Regions from separate parts of the Homo sapiens genome. Here region 2 is linked to region 1. The links are contacts of gene promoters, found by promoter capture Hi-C in human tissues and cell types (Jung and others, 2019). All regions are on one chromosome and are shown on one strand. The core of a region is centred on a gene start or on the middle of the fragment in contact, and the rest is flanking DNA. Distances in the headings are between cores, read along the strand shown.

Evidence for each region. The method cuts DNA at HindIII sites, captures the fragments that hold promoters and counts their contacts. A contact is called where the count stands out against the background at its distance.
Region 2: the fragment with the promoter of BPTF here is called in contact with the fragment with the promoter of PITPNC1 in region 1 in 2 of the 25 tissues and cell types used here (lymphoblastoid cells and spleen).

The regions. Positions count from the first base shown.
Region 1 is chr17:67,374,590-67,381,584 of GRCh38, reverse strand. It overlaps PITPNC1 (phosphatidylinositol transfer protein cytoplasmic 1), which reads right to left and starts at 4,304. Exons shown (of 9, transcript NM_012417.4): 1 at 3,383-4,304. The coding sequence starts at 3,430. RefSeq lists silencers at 2,450-2,809, 2,920-3,219, 3,230-3,649, 4,000-4,249, 4,300-4,419 and 1 more and an enhancer at 3,805-4,498. The HindIII fragment of the contact is 14,929 bases long and covers 1-5,072 here.
Region 2 is chr17:67,820,120-67,827,114 of GRCh38, reverse strand. BPTF (bromodomain PHD finger transcription factor) reads right to left here and starts at 1,612. Exons shown (of 28, transcript NM_182641.4): 1 at 778-1,612. The coding sequence starts at 1,390. RefSeq lists enhancers at 739-1,008, 971-1,666, 1,667-2,364 and silencers at 1,059-1,258, 1,439-1,488, 1,689-1,758. The HindIII fragment of the contact is 39,315 bases long and covers 1-6,995 here.

The DNA.
Region 1 (6,995 bases), core at 3,055-5,554:
TGAGGCAGGAGACTCGCGTGAACCCGGGAGGTGGACCTTGCAGTGAGCTGAGATTGCACCACTGCGCTCCAGCCTGGGAGACAGAGGGAGATTCCGTCTCAAAAAAAAAAAAAAAAGAGAGAGAAACAAGTTCCAGAAGTTCCATGTAGGTTGAATCAGGCCCAGAGCCAACCAAGAGTGGAAGCAAAAGTTAGGCTCCCAGGCCGGGCGCAGTGGCTCATGCCTGTAATCCCAGCCCTTTTTTTTTTTTTTTTTTTTGAGTGGAGTCTTGTTCTGTCGCCCAGGCTGGAGTGCAGTGGCGTGATCTCAGCTCACTGCAAGCTCCGCCTCCCAGGTTCACGCCATTCTACTGCCTCAGCGTCCCAAGTAGCTAGGACTACAGGCGCCCGCCACCAGGCCTGCTTAATTTTTTTGTATTTTTAGTAGAGACGGGGTTTCACTGTGTTAGCCAGGATGGTCTCGATCTCCTGACCTCGTGATCTGCCCACCTCAGCCTCCCCAAGTGCTGGGATTACAGGCGTGAGCCACCGCACCCGGCAATCCCAGCACTTTAAAAGGCTGAGGCAGGAGGATCACTCAAGCTCAGGAGTTCAAGACCAGCCTGGGCAACACAGCGAGTCCCTGTCTCTACAAAAAGTAAAAAAATTAGCCGGGTTGGCAGCACACACCTATTGTCCCAGCTACTCAGGAGGCTGAGATGGGAGGATCACTTGAGCCCAGGAGATGGAGGCTGCAGTGAACTAGGATCACGCCACTGCACTCCAGCCTGGATGACAGAGCGAGACCGTGTCTCAAAAAGAAAAAAAAAAAGTTAGGCTTCCAAAGTTTACCTAAACATCTTATTTAAAGAAACTCAAGTTGCTTCCTCATTTTCAATGTGGAAAAAGGGTCAGTGGAAAAGGGGATGGTGGAGACTGTGGAATTTACTATCAGTTCTGACTCTAGGGGTTTAACATCTGGCAAACTAGGCCTCATTTCTTCATCCATCATCAGATTTAGCTAATCTGAATCCTACTAATTGGAAACATCTATTAATCTAAATTGCCCTCCTGCTTCTCTGACAAAGCCGAAAATGACTTCAGAATATGAACCTTACAGAAACTGAATCATACTTTGGCCAAAATGAATTATACATTAAAGAATTTATAATTATATTACAGGTGGAGTCTGATGAGTCTGATTTTGTTGGCCAATTAAGAAAGGAAGGGCTGGCTGGGCGCAGTGGCTCATGCCTGTAATCCCAGCACTTTGGGAGGCTGAGGCAGGCGGATTGCCTGAGGTCAGGCATTCAAGACCAGCCTGGCCAACATGGTGAAACCCCGTCTCTACTAAAAATACAAAAATTAGCCAGACGTGGTGGCAGGCACCTGTAATCTCAGCTACTCAGGAGGCTGAGGCAGGAGAATTGCTTGAATCCAGGTGGCGGAGGTTGCAGTGAGCCGAGATCTCGCCATTGCGCCCCACCCTGGGCAACATAACAAGGCTCCATCTCAAAAAAAAAAAAAAGAAAAGAAAAGACAAAAAAAAGGAAGGAAGGAAGGAAGGGCCTCCACCTATATCATTCAAATGTAATTACCCCACGGTATACCTGTGGGTATTTCGGTACAAAAACAAAAGTGGGAAAAGCATCTGCCTGAGTGTTTCAGAAAGCCTGAAAAGGGAACCAACTAGGATAAAGAGATTTTGTAGTTAGTAGAGAAGATTCTAGAACTGGTTCTTTTCTTGATTATCACCTGCAATTTTCTGTGTATTTCATGCAGTCCCAACATTGCTCCTAGAATCCAAACTCATATCAAAAAACAAGGTCATTAGGATATGGAGTAGAGGGATCCATGCCTCCCAGCTGAATTACTCTAGCTCAACTGCCCACAAGGTGGGACAATCTCCACCTTTTCTGGAAAGACTCCTATTAACCAGTCCCATTCATTTGCCCTTCTCTTTCTCCACAAAGCTATGTCCTGCTTCTCCACTTACAAGGTCATATGCAACTCGAATCTCTGTCTACCCACCTGGCATCCACCCTTCCAGACCCTGCTTAAATGCTACCTCCTCAAATGCCAACGAACTCCAAAACTCGGTTGTTCATTCTGGTGGAAGCTGATCTCTCCCTCCTTGGCAGCCTGTGTCCCCGTGATGCGTTTTGTAAACTTGCAGCTACTTTGATCTTGTCTTGGATTGTACTTGGGTCTTACCTTAACCCTTGGTCCAGATGGCAAATACGGACAGCCCCTGTGAGCTCAGCCATGTTCTCAGTTATGCATCTTTTTCTCTCCCAAAGCACATCGCCCCTCTCACCAAGTAGTGGCTCAAAAACATATCTGATAGTTTCGAGGCACCAGATTTAAATATAAAGACGGTCTGGGTGGCTGATTTCATGTGTGTTGCCACACCAAACCACACTAGTGAGTTTCACGTTGCCTTGCTTGGCTTTGGGCTCCCTCGCTGTCCCTGGACAGAGACGCTCAGCAGTCGTGGAATCACCACAAAGGTGGGGAGGAAGAAGGGGAAGAAAGGGAAGCCGGGGCCGGAATAATCCTATCTGAGTCACCACTTCCTGAATACTGGAGCTCGCGGCTTCGCAGGATCGGGAGAAGGACAGCAGAGCCGCGCTTGGAGGACGAGCCCCCGCCCCGCGCCCGGCGCCCCCAGCCGGCAGCCGCGGCCCCGGCACCACGTGCTGGAGCGCCCTCCTGTGGCCGCGTCGCAGCCCCCGCCGCTCCCGGCTCGCGCGCCGCTCCCCGCGGCGGAAGAAACAAGAGACGCAGAAAGTTTCCGAGCCAGGCGGTTTGCGAAAGGACACAGCCGGGTCCCGAGCCTCGAAGGGCGGACGTGCCGGGAGCTGCGCCCAAGCCCGCGGCGACGGCGAGAAGTCGGGCCCCGCAGGGACCTCCCCTAAGGGCTCAGAGGTTCCTCCCGCGGGGCTCGGGGCGTGCAGATCCCGAGGGCGCAGGGCTCCTCCTCGCACCCCTACCTGACCGCAGAGGGCGGGGAGGGGAGGCTGGGCCCACGGCCAGGACGGGATGCCCCCCAAACCCCAGCTACAGCGCGCGCCGGGGGCTCTTGGGTTTGGTTTATTCATTTTCTTATTTGGAGGGAGGGGGCGCACCCACTCCCTTTGGCTCATAGTGATCCCCAACAGTCTGGATTCTGGGCGCCCCCGAAAAGCCCACCCGGAGTCCGCCGCCCCACCCAGCGCCGCCCTCCCCCGCTGGGGTGACAAGTGGAAGCCGCAAATCCCCTCCCTCCTCTCCTCCAGGCTTCGGGTTTGCGGGGTAACGTCCACCTGGGTTTCCTGCCGCTCGCCCGGGGCTCGCCGGCCAGGAGGCGGCGGTAGCGGCGGGGGTCCCGGAGCGGGCGAGGCCGGGCCGGGCGCGGCGCTTACCTCGTCTACGGTGAGCGGCATGCAGATCCGGTACTCTTTCAGCAGCATGGTCCTGCCGGCCGCGGACCCCCGGGGCGGGAAGCGGGGGGCGCCCCCAAGACCAGCAAGGCTGCTGCCCAGGCGCAGGGCAGGGCGCCCGGAGCCCGGCGCTCGGAGCCGGAGGGCGAAGCAGCCCCCGCGGCGCGCTCAGCTCCTGGCTTCCTCCTCTCCGCCCCAGAGCATGTCAGGGTTTGGGTCTGGGTGTTCGCAGCTCCCCCGCCTCCTCCCTCGCCGAGGCCGGTCCTCCCGGAACGCGGTGTTGCAAAGTCAGGGAGGCAGGGAGGGAGACCCGCTGGGGACGACTCTGCTCGGCTGCCCAGGGTGGTAGGAGCGGCCGCCAGATCAGGACATGCCCGGCAGCGAGCGAGGGAGGAAAAAAGAGAGATTTCCAAAAATTAAAACGAATGCACAAAAGTCACCCGCTCGATCCGCCTCCGAAAGCAGACGGGAACCTGGCGACCCCCCTCCTCCGGCGGGTCTGCCCGATGCTAATGTCACCAGGAACACATTGCAGCCGGAGCCGGAGATGCTGACTTTCCAGACAAAGGCTCGATCGGCTTCTCTCCGCGGGCGGTAAACAAGATTTCCTGCTCTTTTTAGGGCCGGTCCCCGCGCCGCTCCGGGGCTCGGCTCGGGGAGAAAAGGGAAGCCGCCGCCGCCGCCGCCGCTCGGCTCTGCCCGGCTGGGGCCCCGGGCGCCTCCAACCTCGGCTCGCGGCTGCCAGGGGCGGGCGGGAGGAAGCTGGCGCCTTCCGCGCGCGTCCCCTCCCCCGAGTCCCTCGGCTCCCCGGGCGCCGTGCGTGCCCGCGAGTTTGCAGCCACCTCGCCGGGGCCGGAGCGTCCGCGCCGATGCAGTGTGCCTGGGGCCGGGAGGTGGGTGCGGGAGGAGCGAGCGCGAGCGAGGCTGACATCAGCAGCGGCCGCGGCGGGGAGGGTAGCCCCATCCGGCCAATGGGGAAATGGCAAAGAATGTGGAGGATTTAAACAAAACAGCATGTCTCTGCCAGACGGCGGGGCTGCTCCGGAGCGGAGCCCGGCCGGCGCTGGGGAGGCTCGGGCAGAGGGGCTTTCCTCGGCTCCTTTGCCCTTTGAATCCGCTCTCCATTGTGCCCTGAGTGCTGCCGTGCTCCATCCAGCCCCTCTGGGAAGTTTCTGGTCCCCTGACCCTAGGGACAAGTCACCAATGCCCACCACCTATGTGTGGTCCAGTAAGCAAGTCTGGGGCTGGAGAGGCAATGGGTGGGATTTGGGAACAAACCCTTGCCTGGTTTCAGAGGAGAGATCCTGGAAAACTGGGAAGTGCAGCCGTGTGAATGGAAATGAAGTACAAACGGGGAGGGAACAACCAGAGAGAACATGAACCCCACGTAGCCTGTTACCTCGCCTGGCCCGGCTCTGCAATCTTTCTGCAGATTGTGCAGGCTCCGCGCAGCAGAAAGAAAGAGTAGGTTTTCGTATCCGCACTCCTAAGTTCAAAAAGTCACAGTGAAATGTCAATGAAAATGCCTGGAGTGTTGCTATTTGATCCATATTAAACAGATCTCTCATTTTAACCACAAGAAGCACATTCTTCAGTTACTCAGGAAGCAGCATGGAACTGCTGAAGTCTGTTTTTCATTTGTCTGGTATTTTTCAGCTTGTTTTTATGAAAAGTTGCCGGATGAAAAATGCATCAGTTGCCTGTATGAGAATAACCTGTAAGCGTTATCTTTTCTCCGAAAAATCTTCACGCTCTGAAGTCCTGAAGCTAGAGCTTAGATGGCGATGCAGATGCCTCAATACAGTATTTTGAATTGTGTTTAATTAATAAGTAATTAACCAATATGACGATGATGGGCTTGTGGCAAAAGTCATCCAGAGGGCTGGAGAGAATTTATAACTGTTAACTGATACAAACCCTCCTAGGAAAATGATACCCTATATCCAGCTTATATTTTAGTGGAAACTATTTTCCAGATAAATGCTTTCCAGAGTTGGCTCAGAAATATTCACAGCAACTAATTAAAGCTAAACCAAATTCCTCGAGGTGGAAAATCTAAATCTGACACTGCAGTGTTGAATAATAACACATTGGAAGGCTGTGATATGGAAAGAAACTCAAGCTGTTTTTCCTTTTTTTTTTTTTTTTTTTGCTTCTTACTTGAAAACAAATGGAAGACCTAATAATCTTCCCAGAGGCAGGAAGGCAAGGGATTGGCTAGCCACACATGCGCATGCACTTGGGACATCGGGATGTGTAGGCTCAGTTCCTGGCTTCCTGGACATTTCCTGACACTGATTCTGGAAGGAAGTATTCTACTGACGGGTGACACTGTTGAGGAGCTACTTCTCTGAATTTCCCGAACTGTAAATTGTCACATATATGCTTCCTCCATCATCCGTCTTGTTGCTGTTATTGGTTTGTGATGGAGTTTCGCTCTTGTTGCCCAGGCTGGAGTGCAATGGCATGATCTCGGCTCACTGCAACCTCCACCTCCCGGGTTCAAGCAAGTCTTCTGCCTCAGCCTCTGGAGTAGCTGGGATTACAGGCACCGGCCACCACGCCTGGCTAATTTTGTATTTTTAGTAGAGATGGAGTTTCACCATGTTGGTCAGGCTGGTCTCAAACTCCTGAGCTCAGGTGATGGCCTCGGCCTCCCAAAGTGCTGGGATTACAGGTGTGAGCCACCGCGCCCAGCCCACCCCTCCTGTTGTAAGGTGACTTCTCCATTGGATTCTCATTTTCTTTTCATTCATTGCATCCGCAAACCTGGTCATATTAATCTTGTGCAAGTACAGCTCTCATCCTGCCACCTTCAAACCTTTTAGTGATTCCTGGCTGGGCTCGGTGGCTCACCCCTGTAATCCCAGCACTTTGGGAGGGGAGGTGGGCCGATCGCATGAGCCCAGGAGTTCAAGACCAGCCTGGGAAACATGCTGAAACCCTGTCTCTAAAATTTAAAAATATATAAAAACCTTTTAGGGCTTCTCTATGGCCTACTGAGCAAGTCAAAATGCTTTGGTAGGAGGTTCAAGGCTCTGGATCTACCTTTCCCACATTAGTCCATTACCCTTCCCAGCCCAACTCCAGCCAAATGAGACGAGTCAGTTGGCTGCAAAAGCCCCTCCTCCCCGGCCACCTTTCTAGCTCAACCCTTCTGCTGTTCAACCCGTTGCCTTCACAGAGAATCCCTCTCCCCAATTCAATCCCCATGACACCATTTTAAAGCCAGGCCTTGGCAATCTGCGCTTCAGACAGTGGTTCTGATAGCAGTGAGCTGGAGGGGCTAGCAGAGGCGGGAGGGGCTGGTGCAGGGCATAGGGAGGGCATATTCATTCATAAGTCATGCACACTGAGGGCGGGGCGCGCCATCTACTGGCCAAGCACTGTGGTTTTAAGTCCTGTCCTCAGCAAGTGTCTGGCAAGAATTGTATCTTTGTTTCTTCTCAACCAATGAAGTCGCAATATCTACTTACGAAGAGCCTTGAAGCTGTTGCTATCATCATTATGGACAGTCATGATGTTCCATTAACAATGTACAATCTGCCGTGGCTGATCATCACATTTTTTTAAATGGGGGTGGGACACAAAAGGC
Region 2 (6,995 bases), core at 363-2,862, 450 kb before region 1:
GCGCGTTCCTGTAGTTTTGTACTTTTATTTTTGATTTAACCAAAATAATTCTGAATCGGATGAATAACCAAATTTGGTTGGGTCTTGTTTGGCTTTCTGCGTTGCTTTTTAATCAGCCATTTAACAGCAACTGTTGCACGGGCCCATTAGCACTCGAAGAATAAAAACAAACACACAGGACCAGATAAGGTTCCCCTACTAACCCAAATGATCCGTTTCCTTAACACAATTTTAAAACCACAGCTAGGGGTGTGAAAACGCATTTTTTTGTGCGTGTTTGTGTACCACAATCTGTCCAAATCCTTAATTCCCTTTTAAGTAACAGATATATAATAAAAATCCGAAAGAAACCACATTAGAAATGCAAAGAGGTTTGCAAAACAAGAGGCTTCTTTCATTCCAGAAAACCACACCAAAACAAGGGGAGAAAAATGAATGCAATGGATATGTGTTTGCCAAAGTTTCAATCCTGCCCGGTGGAGACACTGCACTGGCACAAATTTTGAAGAGGAAAAAAAGGGGGTTGGGGGGGGGAGAGAGAGCGAGCGAGTGTGGCCTGCAAACTGCAACAATGCAATCTCCATTTTGAACAATGCGCCTCTTTCCTCTTGTAAATCTAGTTTTTTGCCACTTGATGTGCCGTCGCATTTCCCCTCTGTTTGGGGGGGAGGCGGGGTTGGGGGGAGATCGGAGCAGGATGCACAGCACACGAGTGAGCAAGGGGGGAGGGCAGAGGAGGTGGGGAAGGAGTCTGCAGCAACTGGGCTGGGTGGGTACCTGGAGTGCTGCTGTAGGTACTATGGCTCCTGAAGCTGCTTTCCGTGCAGTAACTGGCGTCGTCGTCGTCGTCTTCCATCTCCTCCGGATAATCGGAGTCATCGTCGTCCTCTTCCATCTCATCCTCCTCGTCGTCCTCAGAATCCTGGGTCTCCTCGGCGTCGCCGTCCTCCTCCTCCTCCTCCTCGGAGACCATGTCCTCCTCTTCCTCCTCCTCCTCGCTCTCGTGGTCATCGTACACCACTTTGTTGACGGCCCTCCGGGCCGCGGTGGTCCGGGCCAGGTGGCCGCCGCCGCCCCCGCCCCCCGTCCTGCCGCCCCCGCCTCCTCGCCCCCCCCGGCCCGGGGCGCTGGTGCTGGGGGGGGCCGGCGGCGGCGGCGGCGGCTTCCTCCGGCTACTGCTGCCCCCCCTGGGCGAGCTCAGCCGCGTCTTGGGCGCCACCTCAGCCTGGGCGGCGGCCCACCTGCCCCGGCTGCTGCCGCGGTGCCGCGAGCGGAGCCCCCCGATGGGTCCGGACGTGGGCGGCGGCGGCGGTGGCGGCGGGGCCGGGGCGCAGCGCTCCGCAGCGGGAGCCGCGGGCTGCTTGGGCGGCCTGCCCCGCCGGCCCCTCATGTCGGAGCCGAGGCGGGGGGAGAAGGAAAGCGAAGGGGGAGGGGCGGGCGCAGGGGGGGCGGTGGGGAGCGCCGGGGCCGGGTGGGGAGGCCCGCGGGGCCGGGCGGGAGGGGCCCGGCCGACGGAAGCGGGTGGAGGGAGAAGGCTCAATCCGAATTGCTGGGGCCCCACTCCGGATCGCCTTCAGCCGCCATCTTGTTTCTTCCCTCTCGCTCGGTGACTGGGGGAACCGACAGCGGCCGCAGGCCCAGAGCGCGGTCACGTGAGCTGCGCCGCCGACGAGCCTGGGACGGAGCGAAGCGGCGCGGCGGCCGCTAGGGGGAGCGCGGGAGCGTCGAGTCGGGGGCGGGGAGCCCTGGGCGCCTGGGCTCGGCACAGCGCGGTGCGGCTGGACTCCGGGCGCGGGTGGCGCGGCAAAACTCCGGGCGCAGGTGGCGCGGCTGAGAGGGGCGCGCAGCTCGCGAAATGCCCGGCGTCAAAGGCCTTCGGAGACCAAAGTCTCCGCGGACCGCTGGCTGGAGCCCAAAGCCGGCCGGACCTCCTCCCCGCGTCTCCCCTTTCGCGGCTCGGAGAGGAAGGCAAGGGAGCCCCCAAATATCATTCCCTTCCCTCCCCCTATGGAAACTGATGCTGAAAGAGCCAGCGAGAGAAAGAAAAAAAAAAGTCGCGGAGAGGGGCGGCCCAAGCGACCGAGGGCACCGGGCAGCGCCAGCGACAGAGGGAAATTAGTCGAGGGGACAGAGAGACAAGCCCCCTGAACTTAGGAAACTCTGAAGCATGGAGCTGGAGTCCAGAAAATGACTCCAATGACAACTGCTCCGGATCTGTGCCAGGAGCCACGCCCCGGGCTGCCACGCCCGGAGGGAGGGGCGCCCTAAGACCTGTAGCGTGGAATCCGCACTGGGAAAGCCTCAGTAAACTCCAGAACGCAACTACTGCACGTTCCAATGTCCCGCCACCTTCCCAGTGCCCCAGCTAGGACTTCGATCACCTCAGCAAGAACTTACCTCTCCTTTGCAGTGGAAAAGAGGGAATCCTGCCTAAAACCTACTTCACGGTGTTAAATGTTTGTATTATCGGGAAATAACCTTAATTTATTGACCTGACAAGTCACTAGGTTTCAGCTTAGCCCAAAGGACGAATCATGATGACATTTCAGGCACCCTCAAACCTTATCACAGCGACTCAACCCTGAGTGGTTGAGGTCAGCTCTTTAGATAAGAGAAAGGTGTTATAAACATATGAATATTTATTGAGAGAAGTGACAACCGAAAAGTAATTTAAAGAAAAATAGTTGGCCGGGCGTGGTAGCTCACACCTGCAATCCCAGTCCTTTGAGAGGCCAAGGCCGGATGATAGCTTGAGGTCAAGAGTTCAAGACCAGCCTGGGCAACATAGCAGGACCTCGTCTTTAGAAAAAATTTGAAAAATTAGCCGGGCATGGTGGTGTGCACCTGTGGTCCCAGCTAGCGAGAGGCTGAGGTGGGAGGATTGCTTGAGCCTGGGAGGTGGATGTTGCAGTGAGCCGTGATTGCACCACTGCACTCCAGCTTGGGTGACAGAGCAAGACCCTGTCTCAATTTTTTTTAAAAAAGATGCTGGGCGCGGTGGCTCACGCCTGTAATCCCAGCACTTTGGGAGGCTGAGGAGGGCGGATCACCAGGGCAGGAGTTTGAGACCAGCCTGGCCAATATGGTGAAACCCCATCTCTACTAAAAATGCAAAAGTTCTGTACTAAAAATACAAAAGTTAGCCAGGCGTGGTGGTGCGTGCCTGTAGTCCCAGCTACTCCAGAGGCTGAGGCAGAAGAATCGCTTGAGCCTGGGAGGTGGAGGTTGCAGTGAGCCGAGATCGCACCACTGCACTCCAGCCTGGCAACAAAGCAAGACTCCGTCTCAAAAAAATAAAAATAAAAATATCTAACAGAATTCTGCATACCAAATGGCTTATTTCAGTCTTGTTAGGAAAATGGAACACATATGTGAAATGAAAATTAAAATACAAGCACTAATTGCCAGAGAAATGCATTCAATACAATTTGGTCGAGCTCTAAGGGTGACAAATGTGTATATGTCTCCAGGGACCAGGTAAGTAATGTAAGTCAATAAAGTAGGCAAGATGAAGACCTAGGCCAATGGAGGTGCCCATATTTTGTTTGAAGAGGGTGGTCAGGCACGGTGGCTCAGGCCTGTAATCCCAGCACTTGAGGAGGCCAGGTGGGCGGATCACTTGAGCCCAGGAGTTCGAGATTATCCTGGGCAACATGGTGAAATCCTGTCTACTAAAAATACAAAAATTAGCTGGGCATGGTGGCTCATGCGTGTAATCCCAACTACTTGGGAAGCGGACAGGAGAATCGCTTAAACCCAGGAGGCAGAGGCTGCAGTGAGCCAAGATCGTGCCACTGGACTCCAGTCTGGGTGACACAGCAAGACTCTATCTCAAAAAAAAAAAAAAGGTAGTGAGGAACTGAGAATTTTATTTGGAGACACAAAAATTGAAACCTTAAATATGCATATCCCAGCGATCTTGGTTCACTGCAAACTCCTAAGCTCAAGCAATCCACCCGCCTCCCTCCCAAAGTGCTGGGATTACAAGCTACAGCCACTGTGCCCAGCCACCCTCTTTAAACAAAATACGGGGCCAGGGCCGGGCGTGGTGGCTCATGCCTGTAATCCCAGCACTTTGGGAGGCAAAGGCAGGCAGATCACTTGAGGGCGGAAGTTCGAGACCAGCCTGGTCAACATGGTGAAACCCTGTCTCTACTAAAAACTAGCCAGGTGTGATGGAGCACCGGTAGTCCCAGCTATTTGTAAGACTGAGGCAGGAGAATCGCTTAACCTGGGAGGTGGAGGTTGTAGTGAGTGCAGATCACACCACTGCACTCCAGCCTGGGCAACAGAGCGAAAGTCTGTCTAAAAAAAAAAAAGCGGGGGGCACTTCCATTGGCCAAGTCCTCATCTTCCCCTACTTTGTTGACTTTCATTACTTACCTGGTTCCTGGAGGCATATACAGATTTGTCACCCATAGTGCTCAACCAAATTATATTGAATACATTTATTTGGCAATTAGTGCTTGTATTTTTTCATTTCACATATGTGTTATATTTTCCTATCTAGATTGAAATAAGCCACCAGGCGCAGTGGCTCATGCCTGTAATCCCAGCACTTTGGAAGGATGAGGCGGGCGGATCACCTGAGGTCAGGGGTTCGAGATCAGCCTGACCAACATGGTACAACCCCATCTCTACTAAAAATACAAAAATTAGCTGGACGTGGTGGCACTTGCCTGTAATCCCAGCTACTCTGGAGGCTGAGACAGGAGAATCGCTTGAACCCAGGAGACGGAGGTTGCAGTGAGCCAAGATCGCACCACTGTACTCCAGCCTGGGCGACAAAGTGAGACTCTGTCTCAAAAAAAGAAAAAAGAAATAAGCCATTTGGTGGACAGAATCAGAATCCTGTTAGGTTTCCTTTCTTTTCTTTCTTTCTTTTTAAATTTTGAGACGGGGTTTTGCTCTGTCACCCAGGCTAGAGTGAAGTGATGCAATCGCAGCTCACTGCAACGTCCACCTCCCAGGCTCAAGCAATCCTCTCACCTCAGCCTCCCGGGCAGCTGGGACCACAGGCGCGCACCACCATGCCCAGCTAATTTTCAAATTTTTTCTAGAGACAAGGTCCCACTATGTTGCGCGGGCTGGTCTCGAACTCCTGGCCTCAAGCTATTCTCTGGCCTCGGTCTCTCAAAGGGCTGGGATTGAAGGTGTGAGCCACCATGCCCAGACAACTATTTTTCTTTAAATTACTTTTTGGTAGTCATTTATTTCAATAAATATTAATATATGTTTATATTGCACTCCAGCATGTGTGACAGAGCAGGACCCTGTCTCAGAACAAAACACTACAGATTGATAAAAATATAAGCAGTCTTGGCCCGGTGTGGTGGCTCACACCTGTAATCCCAACACTATGGGAGTCTAGGGTGGGTTGATCACCTGAGGTCAGGAGTTTGAGACCATTCTGGCCAACATGGTGAAACCCCGTCTCCACTAAAAGTACAAAAATTAGCTGGGCGTGGCGCTGTGCACCTGCAATCCCAGCTACTAGGGAGGCAGGAGAATTGCTTGAACCCAGGAGGTGGAGGTTGCAGTCAGCCGAGATCGTGCCACTGCACTCTAGCCTGGACGACACAGCAAGACTCCATCTCAAAAAAGAAAAAATAAATAAAAAATAGGCAGTTTGGATATAGCCCAGAGTCTACTAGTTTGCAATGTATATCCTACATAGTGTGTAAAATGCTATGTACTGCCAGGTGCGGTGGCTCATACCTGTAATCCCAGCACTTTGGAAGGCTGAGGTGAGAGGATCACTTGAGCCCAGTAGTTTGAGGCAACATAGTGAGATCCCCAGCTCTAAAATTAAATAAGTATGCTATGTATTATAGGGAATACAAAGATATTAGAAGTGGGAATACCCTTCAAAATTTATAATTGAATAGTAAAGCAAAATTATTTACAAAAAGTGTACAATAGATGGAATGAGAGGTGTTTTGCATAACTTTTTTTTTTTTTTTTCAAGAAATGGTCTCGCTCTGTCACCCAGGCTGGAGTGCAGTGGCGCGATCTTGGCTCACTGCAACCTCCACCTGCCGGGCTCAAGCCATCCACCCACCTCAGCCTCCTGAGTAACTGGGACTGCAGGTGGCTGCCACCTTGCCCAGCTAATTTTGTATTTTTTTTTAGTAGAGACAGGGTTTCGCCATGTTGGCCAGGCTGGTCTTCAACTCCTGACCACAAGTGATCTGCCCGCCTCAGCCTCCCAAAGTGCTAGGATTATAGGCACGAGCCACTGCGCCCAGCCTACGACATGTCTTCTTGGGGAAGGGAGCGCTACTGGACATTTTTTGGCTAAGTGGAACAAATACTCAGTTCCTGACAAGCTGCACAGGTATGTGGTCACCTGGCTTTCAATCTTTGCTGGGGCCCAGGAGCAAAGTAAGACCAGTTTCCAGAAAGAATATTTATTAGCCAAAGAGAGCAAGGCTTTGATCCAAAACCCTAAGCACAACCATAGGATGCTCCTTTGCAGGGTTTTCATGCGCCCTTCATACAGCACCCCAGTATGTGGTTGTCCAGAGAGTGCTGTTGGGTACATTGGGTCATGAGGACCAATTAGCAGAAGTCCTTGCACCACAGCCTGGACCTGCTGAAGAATCTTCTCTTGCTCTGCCTTGTGGCTCAATGTTAGCAAGGCCTCAGGTCACTCTGAAAATGGGTTAAGGCAGCACAAACAAACGTGGTATATATAGTCTTCTTCTTCTTCTTTTTTTTTTTTTTTTTGAGACGGAGTCTCACTCTGTCACGTAGGCTAGAGTGCAGTGGCGTAACCTTGGCTCACTGCAACCTCTGCCTTCTGGGTTCAAGTGATTCTCCTGCCTCAGCCTCCTAAGTAACTGGGATTCGAGGCACACAGCTAATTTTTGTATTTTTAGTAGAGACGGGGTTTTACCATGTTGGCCAGGCTGGTCTCAAACTCCTGACCTCAGGTGATCCACCTGCCTCAGCCTCCCAAAGAGCTGGGATTACAGGCATGAGCCACCATGCCC